7 separate regions of the Homo sapiens genome follow, and regions 1, 2, 4, 5, 6 and 7 are each linked to region 3. The links are contacts of gene promoters, found by promoter capture Hi-C in blood cells and fetal thymus (Javierre and others, 2016). All regions are on one chromosome and are shown on one strand. The core of a region is centred on a gene start or on the middle of the fragment in contact, and the rest is flanking DNA. Distances in the headings are between cores, read along the strand shown. Region 1 holds the start of CMBL (carboxymethylenebutenolidase homolog). Region 2 overlaps CCT5 (chaperonin containing TCP1 subunit 5). Region 3 holds the start of ANKRD33B (ankyrin repeat domain 33B). Region 4 has its middle 51 kb from the start of CTD-2154B17.1. Region 5 has its middle 28 kb from the start of ATPSCKMT. Region 6 overlaps ATPSCKMT (ATP synthase c subunit lysine N-methyltransferase). Region 7 has its middle 77 kb from the start of CTD-2154B17.1.

Region 1 (3,807 bases), core at 593-3,092, 260 kb after region 3:
ATCCCTAACCACTATTTTAGAGAAATTCCAAGCCCATAAAATAATTCAACTGCAGATGTTTCAGACTGGGTTTTGAAAGATCCTGTCTGAAAGAAAATTAGTGTATCTCTAGAAGGAAAACACTGTTTTAGTCCGTTTGGGCTGCTATAACAAAAACACCAGGCTGGGCGAGGTGGCTCATGCCTGTAATCCCAGCACTTTGGGAGGCCGAGGCCAGTGAATCACCTGAAGTCAGGTGTTTGAGACCATCCTTACCAACATGGTGAAACCCCATCTCCACTAAAAATACAAAAAGTAGCTGGGCATGGTGGTACATGTCTGTAGTCTCAGCTACTCAGGAGGCTGAGGCAGGAGAATTGCTTGAACCCGAGAGGCGGAGGTTGCAGAGAGCCGAGATGGGACCACTGCACTCCAGCCTGGGCGACACAGCGAGACTCTGTCTCAAAAACAGCAACAGCAACAACAACAACAAAAACATCATAGATAGACTTGGGTAGCTTAAACAACATTTATTTCTTATAGTTCTGGAAGTTGGAAGTCTGGGATGGGCCAGCAGGATTGGGTTCTTGGTGAGTATCCTCTTCCTGGCATACAGATGAGGAAGCAAGCTCCCTTGCCTCTTTTTGTAACGGCACAAATCCCATTCTTGGGGGCTCCACCCTCATGACCTAAGCATCTCCCAAAGGCCCCGCCTCCAAATACCACCATGGGCGGGGTGGTTAGGATTTCAACGTACAAATTTTGGAGGGGACACAAACATTCAGTCCATAACAACACCTTTGCAGTGGGGATGGCAGGAAGTGCGGCCACCACGGTGCAATGGCTTTTTAATGTGCCCATTTGTCCAGGCTGAGCTATATTCCTAGAATTCCCTTTTCCTGTATGTTTCCAGTTTGAGTGAGCCACAGGGGTGTGCTTCTGCAGCCAAGTTGAAGCTGTTGTCATAACCTTGGGCAGATGACCAGAGAAAATACGAAGGAGGCAAGTATGAAACGTGTATTAATTTCTTTTTTAAAAAAAGGCTTAATTTGGGGCTGGGGCCGGGTGCGGCGGCTCACGCCTGTAATCTCGGCAGTTTGGGAGGCCGAAGCAGGTGGAACACTTGAGGTCAGGAGTTCGAGACCAGCCTGGCCAACACGGTAAAACTCCGTCTCTATTGAAAACACAAAAATTAGCTGGGCGTGGTGGCGCGTGCCTATAATCCCAGCTACTGGGGAAGCTGAGGCAGGAGAATCACTTGAATCCGGGAGGTGGAGGTTGCAGTGAGGTTGAGGTTGAGATCGTGCCACTGCACTCCAGCCTCGGCAACAGGGTTAGACTCCATCTCAAAAAAAAAAAAAAAAAAAAAAAAAATTGTGGCTGGGCATGGTGGCTCACACCTGTAATCCCAGCACTTTGGGAGGCTGAAGGGGAGGATCACTTGAAGCCAGGAGTTCGAGGCTCCAGTGATCTATGATTGTGTCACTGCACTCCAGCCTGGGTGACAGAATAAGACCCTATCTCTAAAATAAAATAAAATAAAATAAAATAAAATAAAATAAAATAAACAAAAAATAGCTTAATTTGTATTTACAACAGAAGTTACTTGTCTTGGAAGCCAGGCACGCACGTAAATCTCACAGAAGGCTGGCTGTCTTCCTTCTCCTGGCCTCCCTGCCTCCTCCCTCAAGGCTGCCTGATTCTCTTCTCCCTTCCTCTCTGCGGTTCCCTCCCTCCCACCCCCTCTCCCTGCACCTTTCTTTATCTTGGAGCCTCTCCCATCTCTCCCTCCCTCTTCCTCCCTACCCCACCCTCCGACCACCCCACTTCTTCCCCTCCCCTCACACTTCCCTCCCTCCCTTCTCTCGTCTCCTCCCCACTGCGCCTCCCTCCCTCCTGGCCTTCCTTCCCTTCCCCGACTTTGCAGATTTCTCTTCCCCCAGGCCTCCCTCCTCCACCTCTCCGCCCCCTCCGGGCTTGGCTCTCCCAGGAGGCTACGACTGGAGCCACTGGTCCCGCAGGATCCCCGCGTCCTCGGTCGCCGCGTCCACGTCCCTCTCGCGTCCCCGCCCGGCGCCACGCCGCCTCCTCTGGGTTCGGCCTCCGCGCGGTGCAGCGCAGTCTCAGGCCGCGGGACAAGGTACGTGCGCGTCCCCGGGGCACACAAGCCCACACAAGCCCGGGCCCCGCTCCTCTGAACTCCCGCGTGTGTTCTGACTATGGCAAAGAAGGTCTTTGCCGCGTGCACGGGTAAGGAACTTCCCATAGTCCGTTTTCAGAAGCTGACTTTCATAAAAGTGATACGTTGTCCTTGCAGAACAGCAGCCTCCACGATCCCATGCGTCCGAAGCAGCCGCTGTTTACATTTTGGTATTTTCCTGTAGGTGTTTCGCCATGCATTTTAAAGACATAGTGGAAATCACACCGTATGCAAACTTGCGTTCGTTTTGGCCATTTAGCACGGAGGAGCCTTTCCACCATGCCGTTAAATACTCCTTGTAACTCTCTTCCTGCAGTGAGACATTCTGGTTGTAGCGTTTTTACTAATATAAAACTATTAAAAAACTGAGCATATTTGCAACTAAATCAGCATCCACATTCGACAGCTTTTCTTTAGGGTGGGTATTAAGAAGAGAGGTGCTGGGTCTATGGATCTAAGAGTGGGACATCCTAAATGCTGGGTAGGTGTGCCAGGAACGACTGGACAGTTTACACCCCACAGCCATGTGGGTCGGGCAGGCCTTGGAAACACTGGGCACTGAGATTTATGTCCACTTGCTGATGGAAGATGCCACCTGTTGTTTTCAAAGCCCATTTAAAATAAAGTGGTTAGTAATGAGCCTCGCCGGTATCCGGGGAATCCTGTCCAGGCCTGGGAACCCTATCCAGGCCTAGGAACAGCCAGAGAAAAAGCAGATTCTGCAGGGGCGTCGTTGGCATGTCTAAGAGGGCCATTGTGGGCTCATCCAGGTAGCTTCCTAATTCATGCTATCTCGACCATAGACACTTGGAAAATACAAGCATGGCTGCTGAAAAATAAATATTTGGAGAAGTTTGATGTTTGTAGAATCATCTAAGGATAAGTACTGGCCCTGCCTTCCCTGCTGCAAGATTGAAAATCACTTGCCATGCAAGTTCCTACAATGTTTAAGCAGTAAAGGAGAAACCTCCTGCCTTTCCCATTAGACCCCACTTTCCTGTGTTGTCTTGGGGTCCTCTGTAACCCTGAGCCCTGGATGCACTTCCACGTGGTTTCTATTTCTAAATTTCTAAAGCTTCCAGAAATGTATTCCTCCCTTCTCTCCTCTCCTCCCCGCTGCGCCTCCCTCCCTCCTGGCCTTCCCTTCCCCTACTTTGCAGACCTCTCTTCCCCCAGACCTCCCTCCTCCTCCTCTCTGCCCCCTCCGGGCTCAGGCTCTCCCAGGAGGCTGGAGATGTATTCCTAGACTTCCCTGCTTGTTATAATCCCAACTGCACCAGTCCCTTTTGCTTGTCAAAATCTGTTTTCTCTATTTCTGTTGGAGAACTGCGTTGTGCCTGGAAGTCTGACTTGTGAGTTATTTGAATCCTTAGGGCGTGAAATCAGGAAAACCACACCCTCACCATACTTTATCACCTCTCTTACCTGTCTGACTGCCAGTGTTAGAAAGGGAATGTTTGATTACATTGTTAAAAGATAATTTTCAGCCAAAGGTGAAATCGTGACTTTTATACAGATATAAAAGTGATAAATATTTTATTTTATTCATTAAAGAGAGAAATAGGCAGATGTTGTAACTGGTTCAAAAAAGAAGTCAAGAAGTGCAAATGTATACGGAGTAAAGGAGT
Region 2 (3,719 bases), core at 1,220-3,719, 300 kb after region 3:
CACAGCTGAAATGTAAGATATTTCCAAGAAAGATCTAGAAATGCTAATTTTTTTTTTGGAGACAGGTGTCACCCAGGCTGGAATACAACAGTGCGATCTCAGCTCACTGGAACCTCTGCGTCCCGGGTTCAAGCGATTCTCCTGCCTCAGCCTCCCGAGTAGCTGGGATTACAGGTGCCTGCCCTGACCAGGCCTGGCTAATTTTGTATTTTTTGTAGAGATGGTGTTTCACCATGTTGGTCAGGCTGGTGTCAAACTCCTGACCTCAGGTGATCCACCCGGCTTGGCCTCCTAAAGTGCTGGGATTACAGACATGAGTCACTGCGCCCGGCCCTAGAAATGCTAAATTTGAGCACAACCAGGCATTCAAGTTAGAAACATTAAATGTTTGCCTCACAAAGAGTTGCTACTATTGAAACCCTTGGAATTTGAGCATGGAAAGCAGAATGTACCTATACCTTTAAGCAAAAGCTGTCATTCTGTGGATGGATTACAGACATGGCCTGATTTAGTACAGAAATGCCTGAGACCACTGTTTCAACAAGCTACAGCCACCATATCTTTTTGGGAGCCGAGCTACACAAGTGGCTACAGAGGTTATATATTACATTTAGAAAACACTCCACAGTGTGCAGGATTAACCACACAGTGAACTGTGAACTAAAGCCCACTTCAGAGCTGTTATATATATGCTGCCCACTGACAGACATCTGTGTAAAAACAGCAATAAGGCATTACTTCCCAAAAACCAGAGATTAAAACCTAAGTCATCTTTGGTGATAGTACCATATGCACTTTACTGTTATTACAATGAGTCTCATGTTGCTAGGTCTAGTAGTCTAACCAATTCCTACGGCAATCAAACATTCTAAAATTCAGGACTTGAACACCTGAAGTGGGCTTACATATTTAAAAAGACACCATCATCTCACAGCACATACAGTGGATGATTATTCAGTTTAAATCAGACATCCCCCCCCCTCCACGCAGAGGCGTGACAGCTCCTCACCATTTGTCCCCTTGTGCAAACAGTCGATGCCAAGAGCAGGGTTCATCTCCTTCACCTGTCTGGCTCGGACTTCGGTCATAGTCTGGATGGGATTCATGCCACTGTTTTCAGAGAGGGCCATGGGGATGACCTCCAGTGCGTCGGCAAACGCTCTCATGGCATACTGTTCTAAGGTGGGGCACTGGAAAGGTACAGAAGTATGGTGAGTGCACTTGGCGAAACAAAACAACCCAGCGGCACCGTGAAAACACAACTGTATCACATACTTTGAAAAGTCAGCTCACAAAGAATTGTAAGAACAGGCTGTCTTTATTTTTGTATCTATCAGAATATTATAATGTCACCACAGAATACAGGCAGAGGGTATACATACATGTGAGAGATGTCTCAAAATACAGCAGCTCTTATGGCTTTATTTTTAAGTTATAATATTAATTTTGAATTTCAAATAACATTAAAAGACTATAGATTTATTATTTCAAGGACGAACTGGCTGAAAACAGCTGAGAAATGCTAGGTTATGGTAACCAGAATCTGAATACAGGAACGTGGGAATTAACTTAGATTAAAACACCTGTCACCTACACACAGCTCACGATGCTTGTTTTGCATCCAGCACCTCGCTGTTCCGCAGCTTCACAGTCTCCACCATCAGCGAGGCCTGAATCTTTCACTAAGTCTGCACAGATCCCTTACCTTATCCGCCTCTTGGCTAACTGCCAGGGCACAGGATATCTCAGCAGCCCCTCCTCCATACACCACACGATTATCGCGGATGAGGTTCCGGATGACACACAAAGCATCGTGAAGGGATCGTTTCGCCTCCTCAATGATCTAAGGAAAACAGCTTTGCCTGAATTAATGTGATCAAGATCTAGTCAATTTAGAGCCAAGTATCTGGCACCTTTTTAAAGACAGAGAGGCTGTGCTCTAATATTTAGATGGCCTCCACTATCGGATAATATTTATCTTTCTAGCTTTCCTTCCTGCAATGTAGTTAACAAAATTCAAGAGGCAGAGGCGGCCAGTGACTCATTCTAGGATACACGGTCAAGCAAGAGTCAAAAACTGACAAAACTCGCAAAGATTTATCACAATGTGCTAAAAACTCATTCTCAAAGAACAGAGATCGTCAATGGTTATTCACTTGGGTTCCCTTTTTCTACCTAAGGGACAGATGTAAGTCATCCTTGGTAATAATACCATATTGTAATTAAAATGAGTCTTATGTTGCTAGGGCTAGCAGTTTAACCAACCCCTAATGTAACTGTATCAAACATTCTAAAATCCAGGACTTGAATATTTAAACTGTGTTTAAGTATTTAAAAAGATATAAAAATCTCATAGTGTATATTGTATACTCTAAGGGACAGCAGAAAGGCAAATGTGCCTTGTGAAATTAACAATTTAACATGGTCTTCAGTAATTTTACACCATGATACGTCATTGTTTGAGAACCACGATTATTTTTCTTATGGTGACTGTGTCTCTGTTAAATACACACAGGCAAAAAAGCCAGACCATGAAGCAAAATAAGCAACAGTATAGGACAAATAGTTGAATTCTCACCATCTTATTTCCTCCTCTAATAAAAATGGTTACAGCTCTGGAGTTCTTACACTGCTCGATGACCAGCATTTTATCCTTAGTTGTCCCAAATGAGATCTCCTGTACAAGACCAGCAAAGCCCAGCTTCTCGGCTGTGAGCTCTGAGAACCTGGGGACGATCCGCCCTCCTGTTGCGATGGCAATCAGCTAATTGGGGTGGTCAGGGAGAAGGATGAAGACAGTACTGGTGAAGTTAACTTTCAAAACTGGGCCACAAATGAGCAAAACTTGATCTAAGACCAACTTGTTCACTAGAACTGCTGCCCCACTTTGACCGAGACATCTCCAGTTCAACCCAAAGCACCTTGCTAGGTAACAAGGCTCTTGAGCTGGACGTCTTGATTGGGGCTTTGGTGCTGCCCAGATCTATCACCCGGCGCCCGTCCCCTAAGCTCATACCCTCATCTCCCATCTGTGCAGCCCTCCCTCACTCTGGGAACCCAGCCTGCATGTTCCTTGCACTGCGCTGCAGTGAGAACCACCGAGGCACCGTTGCCTGGGACTGCCATTAGTATTTGGATGAGACCAGGTCTTCCAGCCTTAGTAAGTCAACGACAGGGCCAAGTGAGACAACACAGGGAGAGAATTTCAAAATGCCAGGGAACACCAGAAACACACAGCACTGTTATCCAAACAGTAACAAAGATTCCAGCGCTTTCCTCTCTCCCAGCTCACCCTCCCCTCATCTGCCAGCCTTGGTGTGATGCAGTTATTTAAGGCAGGGCTATCAAAACACCCCTCAACACATAAGATGAACCCCTACTTCTCAAAGTCTCTTCACGTGGAACATCCTACCTCAATTTCAGGTCCTCCTACCCAGCGAACCGCAGGCAAGTTGTTCTGAAGAAGTAAGTGATTTGCTTCATCATCAAAGCCCCACTGACAAATTGCTAGGTTAGCACCAGTCTCTTTAATCTGGGAAAAGAACCACCACAATCGTATTAAGAGAAAGTGGGTATTTATTCTTCATTACAATGTTTGAAAAAAGGAGAGGCACAGTTGGGTGTAAGGCAGGTGCACTCAAACACAAAAGCAAAGGAAAGAGAAGGAAGGAAATAGACAAGTGTCCACTTTTCTGTCAGTTCCAAATTCTAAATAGTGA
Region 3 (3,308 bases), core at 459-2,958:
AGCACAGACTACGGGGAACTTGGCCACCGTGGTCACTCTGCAGTTTTCCCTTGAAGTGCTTTGCTTGGTGGAAGGTGTTCCACCAGCCAGTCCTTCTCAGGTCTTCTTAAGCCAACTTTTTTTCTTTTCCTTTCTTTTCTTTTCTTTTCTAAACATCTCGTTTTCTCTGAATCTGGTCATAACGAAAGGATAGCCTGTGCCTGCCTCCACGCCTCCTGCCCTACCCGGGTGGATGCCCGCGGCTCTGGGGCTCTCCCTATGCCCTGACTCTGGGGAGCCCCGGCTGGCATTGGCTCGCGAAGGTGACCTGCGGACAGACCAGTCAGAGATCACGTTGGCTGGTCGCGGCGCGGGCCACAAAGCTCAGCGGAGGTGGGGTAGGGGACCAAGCTGTCCCGGCGAGGGAAGAAACTGTTGCTTCCAAATCATTGCGGCTGGAGGAGCCGATCTGCGCCCCAGCGTGTTAGGACAAGGGCGGCGCGAGGGGCCCAGGGGCCAAATGGGGCGCTGGGCAGGAGGGGCTGTCTCCTGCAGGGGAGGAGGAATGGTCCCCTGCCAGGGACCTGGGGAAAGGTAATAGTCAGGAGGGGACCGGGCCGCAAGAAGCCCATCCTGGATTGCAGCACGGGCAGCCAGCGCGAATTCAGTCAGGAGGTCCACGGGGACCGGTAAACGAGAAGGGGATGCGGTGAGGACGCCGGACTGGCGTTTCTGCCGCGCTGACACCTCGACTGCTCCCTCCCCGCACCGCGTCCCCCAGCCTGAGACGGGGAAGCCACCCAGGGCACCGCGCTCCCAAACAGCGGGGAAAAGGCGCTCTGGGCGGCGGCTGAGTGACCGAGGGACCGGTCCGGAGCCAGGAGCTGGGAGGCGCGGGGATGTGGTGGGGAGGAGGGGAGTGGGGGCAGTGAGGGGGCTCAAATCCTGCGGGGACGCCCGCTTACCCTGCCGTTGCGGTCAGTCTCCTGCGCCTCCTCGACGCTCACCCCGCGCCGCACCAGCGTCCGCAGCAGCCCCACGTTGTTGGCGCAGGCGGCGCGCAGGAGGGTCGCCGTCTCCGGGACGCTTTCCGGGACGCCCTCCGGGACGCTCTCCGCGCTCTCGACGCCGTGCTCCTCCTCGTCCTCGAAAGGGTAGAAAGAGTCGTCCGAGGCGATGCTGCGGGTGTCTGGCAGACTCGAGAAGTCCTCAAACTCTTCGTAGTCAGCGGGGTCCTCCTCGACCTGCGCGCCCCGGGGTGGGGACGGCGGTGGTGGGGTCATGCAGCGCGCCCCGCCGCCCTCCGGCCCGGTCCCGGCCAGCAGCACCATGCCGGCGGCCGGGGCGCGGGCCGGGGGCCGGGGCGCGGGCAGGAAGAGCGGGACGCGGGGCGCGCGCCGAGGTCCCCGCTTCTCGCTTCTGCGTCCCCAGAGAAGCCGTGGCCCGCGCGCTCCAGCTCGGCGGAAACCGGCACCAGGCGGCTGCGCTCAAAGAAAAAAGTCTCCGGAGGCTGAGCGAGCCCCTGGGGTGGGCGGGACCGCGGGGGCTTTCCGAGGCGGGGCGGGGCGGGGCGCGGGGACACGCCTTCCCCCGGGGCCTTCCCCTCGCGCCCCTTCCTGGCCAGAGTTCAGAGCCAGGCAGGCGCTCTCTCGAGCGCGGGGACTGGGCACCTGGCAGCGTTGCCCCAGAGCTGGGGACAGCTGGCGCGGGAGAAGCAGAAGCAATCACTAAAGAAGCCGAACCCGAGTCGCGGGCGGCAAGCGGCCCCGCCCCTCCCTCCGCCGGCCCGCGGGATGGGGGCGGAGGTGGCGGCGGGGGGACGCCGGGGCGGAGCCGGCCTCCAGCTTCGGGAACCTCGGACCCCTGGAGCCGGCCTCCGCCGAGGGCGTCGGGCCCCCGGACCTGGGTGGGGCCGGTTTCTCCCGCCGCTTCAGAGGAGCAGAGCGGGTTTTCTCCCTTCGGGGGATCCCGGGCTTCGGGGCTGACTCCACCCGGCCGCGGCCGCTTGGAGGCCGGGGAATCCCCGGGGCGCTTGGCGGGCAGAGGAGCCGGGCGCGGGAGCGGAGCCGTCCACCTGGGACCTGTGCCCGGGGAGCGCTGCGGGCCGGGCCACTCTGAACTGGGGGCGGTCGGCTGCTGTGGGGGAGTCCCAGCCCGGAAGGGAGGACAATCCTCAGAGTCCCCCGTCTCGCGGAACCGGGGCCGGCCGTGGCTTGAGGGTTGGTCAGATCCTGGGATGGGGGGCGGGGTGTTCCGGAACCTCAGGGAGCATCTGAGTGGGAACGGACGACGAGGAACTCCCCGTCCCCATGCCTGGCCTGTGTCACGTGCGGGGATCTGCGGACTCACCCCCGGAGGCTGCGACTGGGCGCTGACCCCACGTCTGGCTGCCCAAAAGAGCAGGGCCGCGGGCGACAGCCGCAGTCCAGGCCCACAGCCCCTCTGGCCCGGCCTTGCCCTCTCCCCGTCAGTCCTGGCGCCGGGGATGGGCGGGGAGGAGGAGGGCGTGTGAGGATTTGCCACAGGGAGCCCTTGACTTCGGGGTAGGAGGCGTCGTGAGCCAATCTTGGGGGAAGGTCTCTGCGCAAAGGCGCGGAGGTGCGCTCGCGCCCGTCGCAGGTCAAAGACTGCGGAGGCCACCAGCCCTGTGTCCCCCTAGCCTCCTTCCTTCCTTTTTTTCCCCCGATCTTGACAGCGTGTCCACCAGCTGCCAGCCGGTGGGAGGCCCTCGCGGCCCCAAGGTGAACACAGCTAGGCTGGCGCAGCCGCTGGGGACCAGGCTTGAGGCCCACGTGCCGCTGGGCAAGCTGAGGGGCACGAGGGCACCGAATCCGAAACAGCCGTGGGAGGTGTAGGATGAGGACACGTTTAAACTGCGAAGCCGCTCGAGCCCTCGTGTCACACCGCACTGGCCCGACCCGCTGTCCTGGTCGCCTGGTCTTCCAGTGTCTCCAGCAGGAGCCAAAGGGCCTGCTGGCGGCCCCCGACCCGGCATCTGCAGGGCCCCGGAGGGTGGGGCGCGCGGGAGCACCGATTTCTGGTGAAGACGCCCTCGCACCTGGGCGGCTCTGAGCGAGCAGCGAACTGAGACTCGCTGGCCTCCTTCTCTACTCCGGGGATTCTTTCTGCAACCAAAAATAGCCCCCAGATTACAGTAAACTCTACCTTTTTGTGTAACTGACCACAGTTTGCATCAATTCCCACTGGGAATTTCCCCTTTCAAGGTTGAGGGTTGTTTCCAAAGGCCTGGGGTAGTTACAATTTCAAGTGCCCCCTGAGGGCTGAGTTGGGTTTGCTGGACCCACTGTCCTCCCAGGGAGAGCACTGCG
Region 4 (3,670 bases), core at 1,014-3,513, 270 kb before region 3:
CCTCTTTTCTCTTTTCTCTCCTCAAGTGGAGGGAAGGAATCTCTTCTGGAGTTTTGAGCTGTGATGGCTGGAATTGGATTAAAGGTGATGTAAGCACTCCATTCACTATCTCACTGGCTCACGTGTCCCCCAGGTCCACTGGCTTTGAGCCCAGCACAGCAGCAGGACTTGCCCAGCAATTGCAGTCCTTGTGGCCTAGACTGTGTTTCAAGTTTATTTACGACCCGAGAGCACTTTAGCCCACAGTGATGAGTCTTCCCTGAATTCAGATTGGGCTATTACCCTCTGGTTTGAGCTGGTCTAAATGTTTCTTTCATGGGCACCAGTTGAATTCTTCCAGATGTTGCTCTCTGACAGGGAAGCACTGAGTATTCCAACACAGTCTCATGATCACTACACTCTTCTTACCCTAAATGCACAGATTCTCCATGCCACAAGGTCACTGCTGGAGGATGGGGAAGGGGTGGAATCAGCAATTTAAGACTGCCTTTCCTACCCTCTTTAGTGCCTTTTACAGTAATCACCTGATTTTTTGGTTCTTATAAAGGTGCTTTCTGTGTGGATAGTTGTTCAATTTGGTGTTCCTACAGGGAGGACAATCAGTGAGCTTCTGTTTGGCCATGTTCCTCTGCCTCTCTCTCCTATAAACAGGGATTTGACCTTACATAGTTGCAGGAGCTGGTTAAGTGGCATCTGCAAAGCTGTTGTCCTGGAGTCTGATGACGATGCTTGAGGTCTACAAGGCAGGCAAGCAGGAAGAGAAGATGGTTATAAACTAGAAGAGGGGCATGGGCAAGGTGGTACCCAGAGGACAAACTGGATCTCATAACATATCAGTTTTTATTGCTTCTAAGGTTTATGATGCAGGAGTCCTGAAGAAGTTTAGGCCTTTGTCAGGGAGCTAAGCACACACTAGTGCAGGAGAGCTACAGGCTGCCGGTCAGGTTGCTGCCTAATGCCAGCCAGCCAATGGGCCAGCAACCATGCATGTGAGCTTAAAAAATACAAAAAAGCTGCCACTTTACTTCCACCTTCCAAATCTCCCATAAGACTCTCTCCTGAGGCCTGCCCTGACCAAAACATAAGGGAATTCTGAGAAACGTAGTTCAGTCTAGCCAGCACAACACATTACAAATGAATGATCTCAGGATGGCTGCATAAAAATTACCCTAACAGTGATGTAAAGCTATTTGTTATGCTCATATATTCAGGGGTTTAGAAACTGAAATAACGCGGTGTGACCATGACTCATCTCTGCTCCGCGATATCTAGGACCTTGAACACTGGGGGCAGAAGTGATCTGAAGGCTTGTTCACTCACTTGTCTGGTAGGTGATGCTAGTGGAGTCTAGGAGCCCAGCTCCTCTTCATGTGGACTTCTCCTTGTTTGTCCTCACAGAGCTGCAAGTGGTTCCAAGGGTAAACATCTGAGAGAGGGCCAGGTCCATATAAAGGGAGGTTGTACCCTTTAAGCTTTGGTCACGTACTGTCACTTCCACCATTTTCTCATGATTGGAGCAGTCACAAGTCTCACATTCATAGGGAAGAAACACAGACATGACTTCTCTGTGGGAAGATAGACAATTGCATTGAAATAAGAGCATATGAGGGGATATATGTACATACTACACATGTGGCCATCACTGGAAAACTCACCTGCCACAGTGACAATAGTGAATAGTGCTTGACATCATTGCATATTACAGGGAAAATCATCACAGTGTCATTTTGTTTAATTTGGAAATTAATTTTATTCTGACAATGTAGGATAAAAAATTCAACCAACTCTTAATGTACTGTGCTCCAAACACTGGAATAATCCAAGGCTTTCAGAGGATGTAAAGGGGCAAAAAATAAGTAAAGATTACACATCACAGATGCATTAAAACACTTTTCCTTGTAAGTGCCCAACTCAAAGTGGCTTAAAGCACAAGAGAAAAGTTATTGGTTTGTATAAGTGGAAAGTCCAAGGAATGTTTCTGATTTCAGGAAGGGTTTGATTCATGGATTAAGAATTCTGACTGACCCTATTCCTCCTGACCCAGCTTGGCTCCATCATTTTCAGTGAGGATCCCATCCTAAAAGAGAAGTCTACACTGACCTTAGGACTTTTAATTATTGATAAAAATAACATTTTTCCTGATCATGCCAGCAAAATGCCTGGGAAACCCTCTGATTGGTCTACCTTGGGTCATATTCTCATTGCTGAACCAATTACAGTGACCAGAGACATGGATAAGTTTTATTGGCTATCCCTGGGACCAGCTAGAATACATAGTTTTAACCATACCACAAGGACAGAGTAGGGACTAGACAGTAGCTCAGGAATGTTTCCCAGATAAGGAGATGTGGAGCAGACTAAAACATTCAGCTTCCCTACCCCAAGGAGAATGATATCATCATTACTAATATTTCAATGGTCAATGAATAGCTAATTAGTTACGTATGTGGATATCCACATGATTCGCTTTAAAATAAAATAATTTTACTTTGTAGGAATATAAGAAAAAGAGCATCTTAAGTAAATATAAAGAACACTACTTAATTCCCCAGAGGAAATTGTATACTAATATTAGTTGCAACCCAGCCACTGAGAAACTATTACACCTCACATCCGCATACATGAGCTCAAGTAGTTGACCTAGGTGTTCATTTGCTAGGGCTGCCATAACAAAGCACCACAACTGCGAGGCTTAAACAATGGAAATTGGCTCACAGTTCTGGAAGCTAGAAGTCCGAGATCAAAGCGTTGGCAGGGTTGGTCCCTTCCGAGGCTGTGAGGAAGAATCTGTTCTAGGCCTCTCCCTTAGTCTTGGGTGGTTTGCTGGAACTCTTTGTGTTCCTTAGCCTAGAGAAACACCATCCTGATTTCTGTGTCTAAATTTCCCCTTTTTATAAAGAAACCAGTCATACTGGATTAAGGCCCTCCCTAACGACTTATTTTAACTTGATCTGAAAAGACACTATCTCCAAATAAGGTCACATTCTAAGGTTCTGGGGGTTAGGACTTTAACATACTTTTGGCAGGGACACAATTCAACTCATAAAAGCTTGATTTCATTTTAGAAAGGTGTCATATCAGATATTTTAAGTACACTTGACACACAGTTGGTATTCCCTAAAATTCAGAAGTTTCAGAAGCTTCTTAGCAAGGACCATTATGTCTTTCTGGAACAATTCATGCCACCATGAAAAGTACAGGCTCTTATCAAAAGCAAAAACTAGGATTTCCTCCCAGGTCAGCACAATATGATCATTGAATATTTCTTGGTTACTTGGATATTCACTTCTAAGGTATCATATAACACTTACCTCTTTCCACAAGTACTAGGAACGACCAAGCATAGTTCCAAACCTGGAAAGGAAGAAGCAAACATTGTCTCTGTCAGAGACAAGCTAATATCAATCATTATTGTCAGATTAATCACAAATGCCATTCACAGTAAAAACTTTTCAGGCAAATTAATCAAGTATAATTGAATACTTGGAAGATAATATACTGTGTTTAGACAACTATATCCAGTATGAAAAGTCTTGAGATACTAGTTGGCTTGGAGGAAATAAATATGAAGCAAAGTTTACACATTATTTCTTCAATTTTTTTTTTTTTTTTTTTTTGAGATGGTGTTTCGCCCTTGTTGCCCAGGCTGGAGTGCAATGGAGTGATCTCG
Region 5 (3,555 bases), core at 407-2,906, 340 kb after region 3:
ACAGATTGAAATCAGGGGCCAATGCTAACTCGATAAGATTGAAAACAAAAGAAGTATAGTTTAGGGGTGATGTAGCCTAACAGGACCTGTGATAAACAGACATGGGGGTTTCCATGAACACTTGGGCTGATGACTTAAGCAATCTCCCATCTGAATGCATCTTCCTCCAAAAGCATGACCCCCAGGAATGCAACCCTGTGTTCCCCAGGTGTCTCAGGTGGCTCCTCAGACCCTCGGTTAGTTCTGGTGTTCAGACTCCCTCAGATGCTTAGCTCCATTAAGTGCAGGAGAGAGCAAGTTCAAAAGAGTTAAGAAATGAGACTTTCTTCCAGATACACTGTGTTCATCATTGCTGGGAGATGGTATGCACAACATACATTACAGCTCAACAGAATAGAAGAAATGCAAGATTTTTGACATTTAAGCCATGCAGCTGGATTCCATTCCCCTCCCAAAGTACTTTCTCTGGTGGCCAAAGGTGTTAAAGACCTGGCTGTGAAGAAATAAGTGTTCTGAAGTCCAGGAGTCTTCTGAGCTTGTGCTGTTGCATTTATTTCATAGCTTATCACTGGCTGAGCACATTCTGGGAAAAACTGTAGTCATTGCAGTGCATACTTCAGGAGTCTGCTTAAGTCAACAAACAGAAGAACAAGAAGTACCCTTGGGGCCCTATGTGCCTTAGTGTGACCAGCCTTTCATTAAGATGCCTGAAGTCATCTGGACCATGGAGCTGTTCTCACCTGGCTGTGCAGTAACATCTGTAGGCCTCTGACCCAGCTCGCCTGTCCTGGAGCAGGGACACTAGGGGGCTGGGAAGGCAGTGTGCAGACACTGCCTGCCTCCTACCCCCGCCTCTTTGTCTTGCCAGCAGAGCCCTCCGTTTCTCAGGTGTCAGGATCAATGTGCTCAGTGAAGAGAGGCCCTATCAATTACCCAATTCCATTCCCCTTTGCCATGGGTGTTAGGGTGGGCTGTGGGCATGTGACCTGGTTCCTGCCAATGAGATTTGAGGGGAAGTCTGCTCGGAGCTTTGGGAAAGGCTTTTGTTGCTAATAGAAGGTGTTACATGAGGAGCAAGCATCCTTCCTGTTTTTGGACATGCTATGTAGGACGGTAATGCCTGGAGCTTTAGCAGCCACTCTGTAACCATGCGGGGAAAAGTGAAGATGGAAGCCAAGATACCGAGGCTGGTGGAGCAGACAGACGGAACGACCCTGGGTCTTGGGTATGCTGCTGAGCTGCTGCATTGACCCTGAGCCTCGTACTGCAAGACGTCTTGTTATGTGAAGTAATAAGCCCATGTTTTATGCTGCTTTTACATGAATGTTGTGTTATTTGCACCCTACATCATCCTGAAGGAGGAAGGAGGATTGTAAGGCTGACCTGGGGCAAGGGGAGCCGACAGTGTGCAGTGCAGGCATGGAGAGGCCACTGTCTCCACCCAGAGAGGACTAGAGGACTGGAAGGTGCGTCTGGAGCATGTGAAGGATGGAGACTTCCCGGGGGAGGGAGCCCCACTCACAGAGTAGTTCCTAGGAGTGGTGTCTGGGGGAACTCTACCAAGTCAAGAGGGCCGTGCATTTGGACCAGACTTCCCAGGTGATCAGATGGCTCCTGAGGAACACCAGTCACCCCAGGAGGTCTTCCTGTTCTTAGGGGTATGGGCAAGCCACAGCATAGCCTCAGCCATGTCCTCATACCACAGGGAGCTTTATAGGCGAGGAGACTATTTCTCAGGATTAGAAAAGGAATTAGGGAAACCAAGGTCACTTTCAGACTGCCATTCTTGGCAGATAGGGTTACCAAGTATAGGAGCTGGTAACTTAGAAGAGCCACGCCCAGTCCTGAGCACTGGCACTATCCACACTTCTCCCAGCTCTAGTCAACATCTCCTTAGCCCTCATTAGGATGGGAAGTGGAGGGAGCCATACTTCCAAAGGATTCTCCAGTGGGATGGCCGGGAAGAGGCCAACCATACCTCTAGCATGACAGTCCAGCTGGTTGGCTAAACAGGCTCCAGAAGTTCCACTGTCCCTGTGGGTGGCAACTGGGGGTAGACTTGGCACCATCCCTCCATGGGGGGGTCTTCTTGGGTGGGGTCTCCTCTGAGCCTCCCCTTCCTGGTTCACAATGGGGGATGCCTTTGGTATGGCCTGTCCATAAACTAATAATGGTTTAGAATGGATGACATAAAAAACTAGAAATAGAAAAAAGGAACAGAAGCCACACTGATCAACAGAAATACATTCCGGATGGTCAATGCCTTGAAAACATATCCTAGGCGGCACAATTAAAGAGGCTGTGAATGTTTACTCTGGACGAGAGGATGTTTGGAGGCAGATATTTTCACATATCTGCAGGGCTGCCATGCAGATGAAAGGAAGGTAGTGGACACGACTGTGTGCCAGGGGTTTCCATGCACTGTATACCCTTCTCCTCCGCAGGGACATAGCCCTGTCTTCCTTTTTTTTTTTAAATCAAGGGTAGTTAACTTGCTCAGAATCACAGCCAGACACAGGAGCACCAGGTCTTTATTACACTCAGTTGCTCCCCTGGAAGTAAACCTGTTCTGATTGGCTTTGGGGGGCAAAGTAGGGTCATTGGGTGGATGTTGAAGGGATATGAAATTTAAGCTCAGTACAAAGTACCGTCTTAACAAAGTCATTAAAAGTTAGAATGCGTTGCCTGTGGGTGTAGTTCCTTCTGCCTGGAGATGCAGAGCGGAGGCTGGACAGCCACTTGGTGGGGATGTTGTAGAAGGGATCCATCCACAGGCAGGCATGGAGTCCTAAAATTACCCTGAACGATGAGGAGTTTTCCAGTCTGAGCAGGGCCACCTGAATCCTTTCGGCAGACCTCCGCGGAAGATCTGTGAGGCACTAAAGCAGCCTTTGGCAATAAAAGTGTGTCACGTAACTCCATCTAAACCTAGCATCCCCCCAGACATTAGGGCGCTGTGGCAATTTTTCACTCTGGTATTGCCTAACAAAGTAGCCAAAATATTGGCAAAGGTGATGGATGAAGGTAAACTGTATCAGAATCCAGCCAGGAAGTGTGGATGCTCAGAAGAGAAAGTTGGCGTCTGTCAGATCCCAGAGGGTTTAGCTGGAGCTAACACAGTGATGCTTACTCCATGCCAATTAGAACTGAGGGACTGTTCTTGAAGCCCCTGGTGGGAATATGTCACTAGTGGTGTCTTATCCTCTTTTAAGTGACACTGCTTCATTGCCAAGGGAGCAGCCTTATGAGGACCAAACCTTGCCCCTTTCCAGCCCTTCCCCAACTGATGGGATCAGTGTTGGGCCTCTGAGCCAAAGCAGGCCAGGCTGTAGGCTGGCCAGCAAAGTGGCTGGCAGGAAGAGATGAGATGTCAGCTTCCATGTTGAGAATTTAGGGAACAGAAAGATTGAACACATAGAATTAAGGTCATGAGATTGAGGCCAGAGGAATGGCAATGGCTGTGAGAGAGATGGGAGAATAACAGTCAGGCTTTTCTCTGAGTCCAGGGAGCAGGCCACCGTCCTGAGGCATAAGACTAAGCCAGGGGCTCACTCC
Region 6 (3,358 bases), core at 155-2,654, 320 kb after region 3:
TTATTGCTGGTATGGAGCAAGTTTGAGTGGTCTGGATAGAAAATCAAACCAGCCACATCATATCTTTAAGCCAAAGCCTAATCTAGAGCAAGGCCCTAACTCTTTTCAGTTCTCTGAAGGCTGAGAGAAGTGAGGAGAGTGCAGAAGAAAAGTTTGAAGCTAGCAGTGGTAGGTTCATTAGGTTTAAGGAAAGATAAGCCATTTCCAGAGCATGAAAATGCAAGGTGAAGCAGCAAGTGCTGATGGAGAAGCCGCAGCAAGTTATCTAGAAGATCTAGCTAAGATTGTTGATGAGGGTTGCTGCACTAAACAGATTTTCTTTTTTTTTTTTCTTTTGAGACGGAGTCTCGCTCTGTCATCCAGGCTAGAGTGCAGTGGCCTGATCACTGCAACCTCTGCCTCCCGGGTTCAAATGATTCTCCTGCCTCAGCCTCCCGAGTAGCTGGGATTACAGGGGCGTGCCACCACGCCTGGCTAATTTTTGTATTTTTAGTAGAGACTGGGCTTCACCATGTTGGTCAGACTGGTCTTGAACTCCTGACCTTGTGATCCGCCCACCTCAGCCTCCCAAAGTGTTGAGATTACAGGCGCGAGCCACTGTGCCTGGCCAGCAGATTTTCAATATGGATGAAACAACCTTCTATTGGAAGCTAGAGAGAAATCAATGCCTGGTTTCAAAGCTTCAAAGAATAAGCTGACTCTCTTGTTAGGGGTCAGTGCAGCTGGTGACTTTAAGTTGAAGCCAATGCTTACTGGCCATTCTGAAAATCACAGAGTCCTTAGGAATGATGCTAAATCTACTCTGCCTTGCTGTATAAATGGAACAACACAGCCTGGATGACAGCACCTTTCTTTACAGCATGATTTTTGAATATTTTAAGCCCACTGTTGAAACCTACTGATCAGAAAAAGGATTCCTTTCAAAATATTACTGCTCATTGATAATGCACCTAGTTACTACTCAATTGCTCTGGTGGCGGTGTACAAGGACATGAATGTTGTTTTCATGCCTGTCAACACAGCATTCATTTTGTAGCCCAAGGATCAAGGGGGTAATTTTGACTTTTAAGTCTTGTTATTTAAGAAATACATTTCGTAAGGCTAGAGATGCAATAGATAGTGATTACACTGATGGATCTGGGCAAAGTCAATTCAAAACCTTCAGGAAAGGATTCACCATTCTAGATGCCATTAATAACATTCATGATTCATGGTAGGAGGTCAGAGTATCAACATTAATAGGAGTTTGGAAGAAGTTGATTTCAATCCTCATGGATGACTTTGAGACCTAAGTGGAGGAAGTAACTGCAGATGTGGTGGAAATAGCAAGAGAGTTAGAAGTGGAGCCTGAAGATGAGACTGAGTTGCTGCAACCCCATGATAAAATATCAGTGGATGAGGAGTTGCTTTTTATGGATGAGCAAGGGAGGTTGTTTCTTGAGATGGAATCTACTACTGGTGAGGATGCTGTAAACATTGTTGAAATGATGACAAAGAACTTAGAATATTTTATAAACTTAGTTGATAAAGTAGTGGCAGAGTTTGAGAAAATTGACTCCAAATTTGGAAGAAGTTCCACTGTGGGTAAAATGCTATCAAACAGCATCACATGCCGCAGAGCAATCTTTCATGAAGGGAAGAGTCTATCAATACAGCAAACTTCATTGTTGTCTTATTTTCAAAAATTGCCGCAACGACCCCAACCTTCGGCAACCACCACCCTCATCATTGAGCAACCATTAACGTCAAGGCCAGATCCTACACCAGTGAAAAGATTATGACTCACTGAAGGCTCAGATGATCATTAGCATTTCTTAGCAATAAACTCTTTTTTAAAAATTAAAAAAAATTTTTCGAAGATAAATCAGACCAAAATGTCAAGCAATAAAGGATTTTAAAATTAAGGTACATACATTGTTTTTTGAACAGTGCAATTGCACACTTAATAGACTCCAGTATAGTGTAAACATAACTTTTATATACAGTGGGAAACCAAAAATATTTGTGTAACTTGCTTTATTGCAATACTCACTTTATTGCAGTGGTCTGGAACTAAATATTTCCAAGGTATGCCTGTAAGTTCCTCCGTAAAATGCCAAAATTATAACTGAAATTATTTAAAGCTTTTGCTTTCTATCAAATGCCATCACCTTCTTAAAGTTAATTTTCTTTACCCCCATCACTAGCATTAATACTAGCACTAGCATTAGTAGCATTCTTCCTCCCACCGCCCCCTCCGCCGACCCAGTTCGTTTTCCACTGTGAAATCAGTTTTACAACTCATTTTAAGGGGCTTCAGGAATCAAGAACAAAGCTGCGCTGAGTGGGGGATGCTGGCGATTGGCTGGCTGCCCTGAGGGTGACCCACTGCTGTGTGCCAGCTTTCTGTGTGTCTTGGGTTCAAATTTGTACTGCACTAGAATAGATTGCCGTAGTTCATGGGTGTGGTGGGAAGAAAAATGTCCTCTCCAGGAATGTCCACATTCTAATTCCTGCACCTGTACAGATGTAATCAGTGGTCTTGAGATGGGAGATTATTTTGGATTATTTATGTGGGCCCAGTGTTATCATGAGGGTTCCTATAAATTAAGAGGGAGCCAGGCATGTGAGAGAAGGTGATGTCAGGACAGAAGCAGAGATTGGAGTGATGTGGGGTCAAGAGCCTAGGAATGTGGGCAGCCTCTGGAAGCAGGAAGAGACAAGAAAACCTGCCCGAGGGCCCCCAGAAGGAACGCAGGCCTGCCAATTCATTTCAGACTGACCTCCAGAACTGTATGATAATAAATGGTGATTTTCTTTTCTTTTTTTTTTTTTTTGACATGGAGTTTCACTCTTGTTGCCCAGGCTGGAATGCAATGGTGTGATCTCGGCTCACTGCAAGCTCTGCCTCCCGGGTTCAAGCGATTCTCCTGCCTCAGCCTCCCTAGTAGCTGGGGACTACAAGCATGCACCACCACGCCCGGCTAATTTTGTGTTTTTAGTAGAGATGGGGTTTCTCCATGTTGGTCAGGCTGGTCTCAAACTCTCAACCTCTGGTGATCTGCCCGCCGTGGCCTCCCAAAGTGCTGGGATTACAGGTGTGAGCCACTGCGCCTGGCCATAAATGGTGTTATTTTAAGCCACTAATTTTGTGACAATTTCTTACAGCAGTTATAGGAAACCTATAACTGCATTCGACCCTGTTCTAAGTGCTTTACCTCCATACACTCATTTCATCCTCACAATATCCCTGTGACCCCCACTTTGCAGATGAGAAAACAGGCTCAGCAAGGACCAGGGATTCAGGGTCCCATCATTAGTGAGGTGGCAGAGCTGGGATCCTAACTTTGGCTGGCTCTGGAGGAGTCCTGCTTTTACC
Region 7 (3,566 bases), core at 504-3,003, 300 kb before region 3:
TGGAGACCAGCCTGGCTACATGGTGAAACCCCGTCTCTACTAAAAACACAAAAAATTAGCTGGGTATGATGGTGGGTGCCTGTAATCCCAGCTACTCAGGAGGCCAAGGCAGGAGAATCGCTTGAACCCGGGCGTTGGAGGTTGCAGTGAGCCGAGATGGCACCATTGCACTCCAGCCTGGGCAACAAGAGTGAAACTCCATCTAAAAAAAAAAAAAATCCAAATTGTAATTATTCAGCCCTGATAGAGGCTCTGTGGTGGTCATCAGTAGTCCTTAGTGCTCCTGGGAATGTGATAGAATTCCTGGCTCCCTCGAGGACATAAGTGGGGCCATGTGACTAGTTCTGATCAACACATTGCAAACAGAAGTGATGAGCGTCACCTCTGGACAGGAGCATGTGGCTGCCAGTTCAAGACCCTCCTAAATTTTTCTCTTTTTCTCTCATGCACAGCAACTGGCAAATTCCCAGACCAGCATCATTGTATTGGCCAGGAACCTGCACACCTAGGGTGAGCAGAAACTCCCTAGAAAGCCACTGTGGTCAAGAAGTCTGAGTGAGGAATGAGCCTTTGTTACTTCAAGCCACCTAGTTTCTGGGGAGTATCTGTTACAGCAGCTGAGCCTCTCCTGACTGACTGATATACACATTAAGCAAGGTTTGCACTGTGGAAATCCTCAGTTTCTCAAGTGAAAGAAATGAAGCCGTCCCCAGCATCCAGTCTTACAGCTGGAACTTCTTGCCTAGAAAGAGCAAGATGCTGCTTCTCTCCTTCCCTAATTTCCTGTAGATTTTGTTCTTAAGACTGAGAGCTTTGTAGATGGACAATTAGAGACTTTAAAAACTTGTTTCAGTTGGGCACAGTGGCTCATGCCTGTAATCCTAACAGTTTGAGAGGTCAAGGCTGGTGGATCACTTGAGGTCAGGAGTTCAAGACCAGCCTGGCCAACATGGCGAAATCCTGTCTCTACTAAAAATACAAAAATTAGGCCAGGCACGGTGGCTCACGCCTGTAATCCCAGCACTTTGGGAGGCCGAGGCGGGTGGATCACGAGGTCAGGAGATCGAGACCATCCTGGTTAACACGGTGAAACCCTGTTTCTACTAAAAATACAAAAAAAACTAGCATGGTGGCGGGCGCCTGTAATCCCAGCTGCTCGGGAGGCTTAGGCAGAGTAGTGTGAACCCAGGAGGCGGAGCTTGCAGTGAGCCAAGATTGCGCCACTGCACTCCAGCCTGGGTGACAGAGCAAGAGTCCGTCTCAAAAAAAAAAAAAAAAAAAAAATAGCTGGGCGTGGTAGCAGGCACCTGTAATCCCAGCTACTTGGGAGGCCGAGGCAGGAGAATCACTTGACCCCGAGGGGTGGAGATCGCAGTGAGCCGAGATCACGCCACTTCACTCCAACCTGGGTAAAAGAGCGAAACTCCGTCTCAAAAACAAAAACAAAAACAAAAAACTGGTTTCACCTCTTACAAGCACCTAGGATGTGAGATAGCTCATGAGCAAAAACTTTAGTTGCCAACCTGTAAAGTGAAATTCGAAATACCTCCCACACAGGCAAATAATGGAATTAAATGAGATAACACAGAAAAACACCTGGAACACAGCCAATAATTGACACATTTTAATCTAATTGCACTCAAGGTGTGACCGAGATGCTCATTGCACAGCAGACCACATCATCCCCAACTTAGGAGGCCCAGGACCAGGAGACAGCACTTTAGCAGTGCCCCCTGGTGGTTATGCCGAGAACTACCTTAGGAAGCCCTGGGTTCTTCCTTTCCCCCGTGGTGGTTGCTACGAGGCCGACCCAGTGGCCTGGGTTGTTGTTTTATGGATAAATTTATTTTCTTTGCTGAGATGGGCTCGGGAGAAGAATCACTAGCAATTCAGTTTGCAACAACCTCGAAAAGTGGAAGAAAACAACAACATGGCTTTGGAAAGAAAGAGTCCTGACATGCTAATATCCCTTACCAGTTTTAATGCATTTAGAAAAGGTGGATGTAATGCTATGGTCCAAATGTTTGTGTCCCCCAAAATTAATATGCTGAAATCTTCACCCCCAAGGTAATGGTATTAAAAGGTGGGGACTTTGGGAGGTGATTGGGAGCCCTCATGAATGGGATTAATGCCCTTATGAAAGAGGATTGATAGCGATCCCTCAGTCCTTCCGCCATGTGGAACACGTGGGAGGCAGAAAGAAGGTACCGTCTACAAACCAGGAAACAGGCCCTAGCCAGACATTGAACCTGCCAGTGCTTTGATCTTGGACTTTCTCAGCCTCTAAAACTGTAAGAAGTAAAGTTCTGTTGCTTAAAAGCAACCCCATCTATGATATTTTGTTATAGCATCCTGAACAGACTAAGACATATAAGTATGCCTGAGACCAGCAAAACCTATGGGTTAAAAAAAAAAAAAAAAAAAAAAGTTATGGCTGGGCGTAGTGGCTCAGGCCTGTATTCCAGGCACTTTGGGAGGCCAACGTAGGGGATCCCTTGAGGCCAGGAGTTCAAGACCAGCCTGGCCAACAGGGTGAAACCCAATCTCTACTAAGAATGCAAAAATCAGCCAGGCATGGTGATGCACGCCTGTAATCCCAGCTACTCAGGAGGCTGCGGCACAAGAATCACTTGAACCTGGGTGGTGGAGGTTGCAGTGAGCCGAGATCGTGCCACTGCACTCCGCCTGGGCAACAGAGCGAGACTGTCTCAAAAAAAAACAAAAACAAACAACCGTTACTCTCATGAAGAATTCCATAAAACTAACAGGTTGGTACCCAGTTATTTGGAGTATCATGTTAGCACTAAATTATCATTTTTTCATATTGAATCAAAGAGAATAAATGTTCCAATGAATCTGAGCAATGAAGGGACAGCTTAGGAGCTGCAGACTTTCCTTTGCAGGTATCACTCAGATCTCATTCTAATGTGGGTAATCCAACTCCTGCCTTCATTCAAACAACCACACTTTGAATTTCTACATCTCCTTGGACTTGCCATAATAATCAGAAACCAAGAGGGTCCTAGGGCAGCAAACTGGAACGAGAAGGTGGTGGGACAGGAATTAGCGGGAGATCAGACATGCAGGACCAGAGACAGCCACCTAAAAGAGAAAATGGGACTGAAGAACAGAAGAAAGCCTTAATTTCATGTCAACAGGTTGATGACATCACATTCTATTTGCCATTTTAGTCAAGATTAACTGCAAAAAGGTCCTCTCCATGACCTTAGATGCCCTACTTACAGAGGCTGTCCTCACAACTTAGGAGTGCAGAGCTTAGCGACATTTTGGAAATCTCCTAAGGTTTAATCCTTAAAGGAATTACATGCTCAAAGAGAAAAAGAGGTATAGCAGGAAGGTCAATGGCCTCAGGTAGTCTGGACTTGTCCACAGGGAGCTAAGACAGTGGCCAAGGCTGGCTGCCAGAGTCAGGGACAGAAGCTGTCTCCCACCCACACCATCAAGAGTCATCTGAGGGCCATGAACTTAAGCCATAAGAATTATGAGGTCAGCAATGTTTCTTTTATGGAACAGGGTGGATATCAGGAAGGTCTGGAAATGAAGCT

The links. The method cuts DNA at HindIII sites, captures the fragments that hold promoters and counts their contacts. A CHiCAGO score of 5 or more calls a contact.
Region 1: the fragment with the promoter of CMBL here is called in contact with the fragment with the promoter of ANKRD33B in region 3 in 1 of 17 cell types (neutrophils); the score reaches 5.2 in neutrophils.
Region 2: a contact is called between a fragment that was not itself captured here and the fragment with the promoter of ANKRD33B in region 3, in 2 of 17 cell types (neutrophils and naive CD8 T cells). The highest score is 11.5, in neutrophils.
Region 4: a contact is called between a fragment that was not itself captured here and the fragment with the promoter of ANKRD33B in region 3, in 1 of 17 cell types (neutrophils). The highest score is 5.6, in neutrophils.
Region 5: a contact is called between a fragment that was not itself captured here and the fragment with the promoter of ANKRD33B in region 3, in 1 of 17 cell types (neutrophils). The highest score is 7.3, in neutrophils.
Region 6: a fragment that was not itself captured here is called in contact with the fragment with the promoter of ANKRD33B in region 3 in 3 of 17 cell types (neutrophils, activated CD4 T cells and total B cells); the score reaches 9.4 in neutrophils.
Region 7: a contact is called between a fragment that was not itself captured here and the fragment with the promoter of ANKRD33B in region 3, in 2 of 17 cell types (neutrophils and monocytes). The highest score is 5.5, in neutrophils.

What each region holds. Positions count from the first base shown.
Region 1 is chr5:10,305,937-10,309,743 of GRCh38, reverse strand. CMBL (carboxymethylenebutenolidase homolog) reads left to right here and starts at 1,842. Exons shown (of 6, transcript NM_138809.4): 1 at 1,842-2,119. RefSeq lists an enhancer at 2,064-2,564. The HindIII fragment of the contact is 4,286 bases long and covers 1-3,256 here.
Region 2 is chr5:10,260,605-10,264,323 of GRCh38, reverse strand. It overlaps CCT5 (chaperonin containing TCP1 subunit 5), which reads right to left. Exons shown (of 11, transcript NM_012073.5): 7 at 3,413-3,532; 8 at 2,579-2,764; 9 at 1,706-1,843; 10 at 1,010-1,190. Among named protein-coding and RNA genes, the nearest start is that of CCT5, 12 kb to the right of the region's middle. The HindIII fragment of the contact is 8,542 bases long and covers 1-3,719 here.
Region 3 is chr5:10,562,470-10,565,777 of GRCh38, reverse strand. ANKRD33B (ankyrin repeat domain 33B) reads right to left here and starts at 1,708. Exons shown (of 4, transcript NM_001164440.2): 1 at 945-1,708. The coding sequence starts at 1,310. RefSeq lists enhancers at 45-134, 155-204, 525-734, 1-750, 751-1,645 and silencers at 875-924, 1,265-2,124. The HindIII fragment of the contact is 7,834 bases long and covers 1-3,308 here.
Region 4 is chr5:10,835,817-10,839,486 of GRCh38, reverse strand. No RefSeq gene overlaps it. Among named protein-coding and RNA genes, the nearest start is that of CTD-2154B17.1, 51 kb to the right of the region's middle. The HindIII fragment of the contact is 1,577 bases long and covers 1,475-3,051 here.
Region 5 is chr5:10,219,639-10,223,193 of GRCh38, reverse strand. No RefSeq gene overlaps it. Among named protein-coding and RNA genes, the nearest start is that of ATPSCKMT, 28 kb to the left of the region's middle. The HindIII fragment of the contact is 9,924 bases long and covers 1-3,555 here.
Region 6 is chr5:10,240,455-10,243,812 of GRCh38, reverse strand. All of the region lies in intron 1 of ATPSCKMT (ATP synthase c subunit lysine N-methyltransferase), which reads left to right. Among named protein-coding and RNA genes, the nearest start is that of ATPSCKMT, 7.8 kb to the left of the region's middle. The HindIII fragment of the contact is 1,443 bases long and covers 683-2,125 here.
Region 7 is chr5:10,862,140-10,865,705 of GRCh38, reverse strand. No RefSeq gene overlaps it. Among named protein-coding and RNA genes, the nearest start is that of CTD-2154B17.1, 77 kb to the right of the region's middle. The HindIII fragment of the contact is 7,130 bases long and covers 1-3,566 here.